Linked DNA regions of Homo sapiens: region 2 is linked to region 1. Evidence: promoter capture Hi-C in 16 types of primary human blood cells and fetal thymus (Javierre and others, 2016). All regions are on one chromosome and are shown on one strand. Each heading gives the region's core, a stretch centred on a gene start or on the middle of the fragment in contact. The rest is flanking DNA. Distances are from core to core; before and after follow the strand shown. Region 1 holds the start of RFT1 (RFT1 glycolipid translocator homolog). Region 2 has its middle 45 kb from the start of TKT.

Region 1 (3,140 bases), core at 236-2,735:
TTGACCTTACAGGTAAGCCACCTGACTCGTAGTCCAGTGTGTTTTCCGTTATAACTTGTTTTCGTTTTATGAAGCCTATCTGAGTAGTAAGATATTATCAAAGGCTGAAAAAAAACCAACATTGTGGATAAAACAATAAACTCAGTTATTTATGTAGTGAAACAGAAAAAAAAAATCCCTAGGTAAACTTAGAATGGCTAACATTTACTAAGCACATATCACGTGCAAGGCACTCTTCAACATGCTTTCCATAGGTTATCTCATTTCATTCCTACATTGACTATTTTAAAAATACTTATTACCCTAATAAAAATAGCTACATTTATTAAGTACTTGTAGTGTGCCAGGCACTTAAGAGGCATGATTTCATCTAATCTTCCTAATGACCCTGTGAGGTTGCACTATGATTCTCATTTAAGATGAAGAAACTGATACAGAAGTCATCGGATTTATCCCGAAGGCAGGCATCTAGCAAGTGACAAGGCCCAAACTCAAGCCCCATTCTGCTTGGTTCTTTCTTCTGCCCTCCATGTGCCTCTCTAAGATAAGGGGTAGGGTAGATTCGGGACTTGTGTGAAGTAGGGTTGATTGGCTCAAGAGTGAGACAGAGAGATACTGAGCCACTTGACTTAAGAGGTTCAGCTCCTGGGGTTGAAAGAATCTTCAGATACCATTTGGACTAACTGGCCTGTATCATACCTGACAGATGACAAAAATTAGGGCCAAGAAGGGAAGTGACTTGTCCAAGATCACATAAACAGAAGATGCAGCCAACATGTATTAAATGCATACTAAGAGCCGGGTACTGTGTTAAGTACGTTTATTTGAATGATCCCAATCAATCCCTGCTTATGAGCTAAGTACGACATATTATTACCCCCATTTTACTAGTGAGGAACTCAGGCTCTGCAGGTGAAGTCACTTGTCCTGGGTCACGGAGCAATCCAAGCCTAACTCCAGATTTCTCTTCTTAGCTATGCCATATGGACTCTCGGAACTCAGTGGGACTCAAAGTTTGAGGAAGGTGTTTGATGAAGGAAATGAACCCCTTGCCTGAAAAATATCAGATTCTCGAGCACGAAATACCAGTCCCTCACCCCCGCCACCTGATCTAATTCACTCCTACTGCCATATGGGAAATAGAATGCTCAGAAGGAAAGCGGCTTGTCTGCAGTCACCCGGCCTAGACTCTAAAGGCAGGCTCCTATCTCCGGGCCAGGGTCCCCCCTCATCAATGCCACCGTCTCCGGTCGACCCCCCCACCCCCTCCATTGCGGGGTCCACCTCGGGACTGGGTCGGCCCTGGGGCAGGCTCTCAAGGGCCCAAGGGCTGCCATCCCGCGAATCCCGGCTGCAGTACAAGCTGGAACCTGAAGGGCAGAGAGTACCTGCAGGAGGAGACCGGAGGAGGCCAGCCGGGCCGCGTGGCCCAGCACCTCCTGGCTGCCCATAGCCTCCGCGCCAGGCTCAGACACCAGGAAATGCCGCCGCCACTCCGTTTAGTCGCGATAAGATGGCGTCACGGCGCGCCTCGCTGTCTGATTGATGGCCTTGAGAGAGGGGGGCGGGGCACGAGAAGTTCTGGTCCTTTAAGTGGGCCTGTCTCGGGCCGTCTGTTATGGCGCCTGGCTCTTTCTATTTCGGTAGGTTTTGCGCTGTCTGTCGCTTGTGCGCTGTCTGTCCCTCTCTTCCCCGTATAAACGAAATAGTGTGGCGAGTACTAAGAGATACCGTTAAAGAATCCAAAGTTCCTTCTCTGAGGCTTTCAGCCACCAACCAAGAAGCACTAACTTTCCTGGCCTCATCTGCCAAAAGGGGAACAAACTTCTCACTGGCCCGTTAAGAAGATTCTCACCATTGACCTTTGCTTACAGAATCACAGCCACAGACCCTCTGAATTAGGCTGGACAGGAATTGTCCTCATTTAACAGAGAAAGAACTGAGGACCAGAAGTTAGATATAGCACTGTTATGTGTATGGTTTTGTGAAATCCTTCCGAAAGCTCTGAGAATTGGCCCCTGTGGTTAGAGATGAGTAAAGCCTTGGAGATGGGAAGTGACTTGTTCGAATCTACACAACTTGTTTCCTGACTAAGTGGATACCAGGCTCCTGATCCTAAACTTATCACTCTTGCCTGTATGCTAGAAATTGTGAGGGCAGAGTGGAAGAAGGACTGGAAGTGCTTTGTAAAAAAATGTAAAGCGCCCAACATACACAATCAGCTGCTGTTCTGTCAGTGTTCTTATTATCTACCAAGCAGGCTGTAGGAAGCCCAGTCTTTCCCCAATCTCTTTCAGTCCTCACATGATTTGGCCCCAACCTATCTTCTACTACCTTTCACACGATCATTGCCCTTCCCAACACTATCTAGGCCATAGCCATTCCGAGTCCTTACTGGTCCTCAAACAGGCGGTGACTCACTGGCCTTTGCTCCTCCACCCTCTTTGTCCAAAGTGTCTTCCCTGACAGCACCCCTTGCCCTCCTAGACCACACTGTCCTGACTTTCCTGGCCAACCACAGCTGGTACCTGCTGTGGACTAAATGTTTGTGTACCCTCAAAATTCATATGTTGAAGCCTAATCCCCAGTGTGATAGTATTAGGAGGTAAGGCCTTTGGGAAGTAATTAGGTCCTGAAAGTGGAGCCGTCATAATGGGATTCATGTCCTTATAAAAAGAGATGTCAGAAAAATGATCTCTGTGTTTACTATTTGAGGATACAGCAAGAATGTAGCTGTCTGCAACCACGAAGAAGGCTTTGTAAAATGTAAGGCGCCCAACATACACTTAACAGGAACCAAACTGGCTAGCACCTTGATCTTGGGCTTCCAGCCTCCAGAGCTGTGAGAGAAATTTCTGTTTTTGACTTACCCAGTCTATGGTATTTTGTTACAGCAGCCCAAGCAAATCAAGACAGTACCCCTAAAATACTCTGTACCCCTTTATAGTTCCTAATGCAATCTGCATTATAGCAGAAAGACTAGAATATGTGTCTCTATATAATCAGCCCATGAGCTCCAAGAGGGCAGAAGTGCAGCCTGCCTGGTTTTGCTTCCTGAAGTAGCGGTACAGAACATTCTTAGGGCTCCTATAAATGTCTCCTGACACATGACTGCTGCTACTGCTGCTGGAAACAGACTG
Region 2 (3,299 bases), core at 535-3,034, 81 kb after region 1:
AGCCTGAAAAGATATCTCAAAGGGCCAATTTGGGGTTTTACAATGGTGATGTTATGTACAGGAGTAACTGGAGGAAGTTTTAAATCTTGTGGCCTCTAGAATAATGGCTGGTAATCATTTAATTAGTAGGTTGGTGCAAAAGTAATTGCGGTTTTTGCCATTACTTTTAACTGCAAAAACCACAATTATTTTTGTACCAACGTAATACTATTCTTAGCAGAATCCAGGCCCCTTTCATCCTCCTAACTTGGTGGCCTTTCATTAGTTTTACAAAGGTGGTTTAGTTTTGGGAAGGGCGATTATCATTTAAACCACAAACCAAATTTCTCCCAAGGTTAGCGAGTCCCATGCCCAGGAATGACCAAGGGCAGTTTGGAGGTTAAAAGCAAGATGGAGTTGGTTAGATCAAATTTTGCCTTCATGATTTTCTCGCTGATATAATTTCTGCAAAGGCAGTTTCAATGTAGCCTTGGAAATTGAGACTCCGCTTTAGGCTTACATGCAGATTTTTCAGGTTTATGCGAGATGTGAACAGAAAGACACTGTTTTGGTTTGGGAAGTTTAGAAATTGGTGGAAAGTCTGATTAATGTTGTACTTTGGGTACTCTGTAAGTTTATTTTCTTTGTTTGTTTTCTTTTGGTTTAGTAAACCGTTTTTTGAGAATTTCAGCCTGTCTTTTCTATGCTAAAGAAAGCCACAGAAAGGTTTTGTCTTGGACCTAGGACTTGCGACATGTGGAGATTCCCCATTCTGGCCGGGCATGGTGGCTCATGCCTGTAATCCCAGCACTTTGGGAGGCCAAGGCGGTGGATCACTTGAGGTCAGGAGTTTGAGACCAGCCTGGCCAACATGGTGAAACCCTGTCTTCTACTAAAAATACAAAAATTAGCCAGGCATGGTGGCGGGCACCTGTAATTCCAGCTACTCGGGAGGCTGAGGCAGGAGAATCACTTGAACCCAGGAGGCAGAGGTTGCAGTGAGCCAAGATCATACCACTGCACTCCAGTCTGGTCAACACAGTGAGACTCCATCTACAAAAAAAAAAAAAAAAAAAAAAAAAAAAGATTCCCCATTCTGTTCATGAGCCAGGCTTGGGGAATTGCTGGCCTAGAGGACATGAACTAGGGCGTGTTCATTTTTGCGTTCCCCTCAGCACAGGACTTTGGCAATGGAAATTATTCAATATAAAGTTGGAAAAGAAAAAGTTCCTCTTCTGCAAAGGTGAAATTAAAAGTCTCTTCAGTCTTTTCAGACATAGTTAGGGACTAAATTAATGAAGTTAGCTTTGGTTAGCTGAAATTTAACAAATATTTGTTCATTCACTCAACAACCACTTGTTCTATGCAAGTTCATGTATGATTTTATATATATATATATATATATATATATATATATATATATATATGAAAGAATAAAAAATTTTGATTCCAAATAATTTCAAATGAATTTTTTGTGAGGTAAAATGTACAAAATATAAAATTTACCATTTTAAACATTTGTAAGTGTACAATTCAGTGGCATTAAGTATATTTCATGGTGCAACCAATCCTAGCACTTCGGGAGGCTGAGGCAGGAGGATCATTTGAGCCCAGGAGTTCAAGACCAGTCTGGGCAACATGGCAAAAGCTTATCTCTACAAAAAATACAGAAATTAACTGGGCATGGTGACACACACCTATAGTCCCAGCTACTCGGGAGGCTGAGGTGGGAGGATCACTTGAGCTGTGGAGGTCGAAGCTGCAGTGAGCCATGATCACACCACTGCACTCGAGCCTGGATGACAGAACAAGACCTTGGCTCAAAAAGAAAAAAGAAAAAAAGAAAGAAATGGCAATGAGACTGGGCAATGTAATTTATAAAAAAAGAGGTTTAATTGGCTTACAGTTCTGCAGGCTACACAGGAGGCATGGTACCTGGATCTGCTTCTGGGGAGGCCTCAGGAAGCTTACAATCACAGTGGAAGGCAAAGTGGGAGCAGGCACATCACATGGCCAGAGCAGGAGCCAAGAGAGCCTGTGTGGGGTGAGGAGAGGGCCACACACTTTTAAATGACTAGATTTCCTGTGAACTCAGAGTGTGAGCTCACTCATCAACAAGGGGATGGCCCAGGCCATTCATGAGGGATCTGCCTCCATGACCCGAACACCTCCCAACAGGCCCCACCTCCAACACTGGAGATTCCAATTTGACATGAGATTTGGAGGGGGCAAATATCCAAACTCTATCAACTACCATTCATCCTCCAGAACTTTTCATATTCCCAAACTGAAACTGTATTAGATAATAATTCTCTATTCTCCCCTCCCCATGACCTTGGCAACCAACATTCTACTTTCTGTCTCTATGATTTGACTATTCTAGGTACTTCAGATAAGTGAAATCACAGAGTATATGTCTTTCGTGGCTGGCTTATTTCACTTAGTGCAATGTCTTTGAGGCTTATCTTTGTAATATGTGCCAGAATTTCTTCCCTCTTTAAGGCTGAATAATATCCCCTTGTGTGTATGTACCACGTTTTGTTTACCCGTTGATGGACTCCTGGATTGCTTTCACCTTTTGGTTATTGTGAATGATGCTGCTGTGGACCTATTTAAGTTCCTGCTTTCAGTTCATTTGGGTATATTCCTAGCAGTGGAATTGCTAGGTCATATGGTAATTCTATATTTAACTTTTTGAGGAACTGCAACACGGTTTTCCACAGCGGGTGCAGCCTTTTTCATTTATATTTTACATTTCTTCAATGTACACAGGTTCCAGTTTCTCCACATCCTCGCTAACACTTGTTACTTTCCGTTGTTTTTTTAAAAAATTAGAGCCATCCTGCCGGGCATGGTGGCTCATTCCTATAATCTCAGAACTTTGGGAGGCTGAGGCAGGTGGATTGCTTGAGCTCAGGAGTTCAAGACCAGCCTGGGCAACATGGTGAAAGCCCGTCTCTACAAAAAATACAAAAATTAGCTGGGCACAGTGGCCTGTGCCGGTAGTCTCAGCTACCTGGGGAGGCTGAGGCAGGAGAATCACTTGAACCCTGGAGGCACAGGTTGCAGTGAGCTGAGATCGCTCCACTGCACTCCAGCCTGGGTGACAGGAGTGAAACCCTGTCGCAAAATAAATAAATAAATAAAATTAAAGCCATCCTAGTGAGTGTGAAGTAGTATCTTATGGTTTTGATTTGCATTTCCCTAATGACTAGTGATGTTGAACATCTCTTCATGTGCTTACTGGCCATCAGATGAATTCAAACGAACTGTTAAGTGGAAGACTCTGTTTATGTTGATTTAAATTGGCAAGTCAAACA

The links. The method cuts DNA at HindIII sites, captures the fragments that hold promoters and counts their contacts. A CHiCAGO score of 5 or more calls a contact.
Region 2: a contact is called between a fragment that was not itself captured here and the fragment with the promoter of RFT1 in region 1, in 7 of 17 cell types (M1 macrophages, M0 macrophages, M2 macrophages and 4 more). The highest score is 9.9, in M1 macrophages.

Annotation. Positions count from the first base shown.
Region 1 is chr3:53,128,950-53,132,089 of GRCh38, forward strand. RFT1 (RFT1 glycolipid translocator homolog) reads right to left here and starts at 1,486. Exons shown (of 13, transcript NM_052859.4): 1 at 1,389-1,486. The coding sequence starts at 1,451. RefSeq lists enhancers at 1,342-1,531, 1,542-1,591, 1,632-1,831, 1,842-1,891. The HindIII fragment of the contact is 8,425 bases long and covers 1-3,140 here.
Region 2 is chr3:53,209,838-53,213,136 of GRCh38, forward strand. No RefSeq gene overlaps it. Among named protein-coding and RNA genes, the nearest start is that of TKT, 45 kb to the right of the region's middle. The HindIII fragment of the contact is 318 bases long and covers 1,626-1,943 here.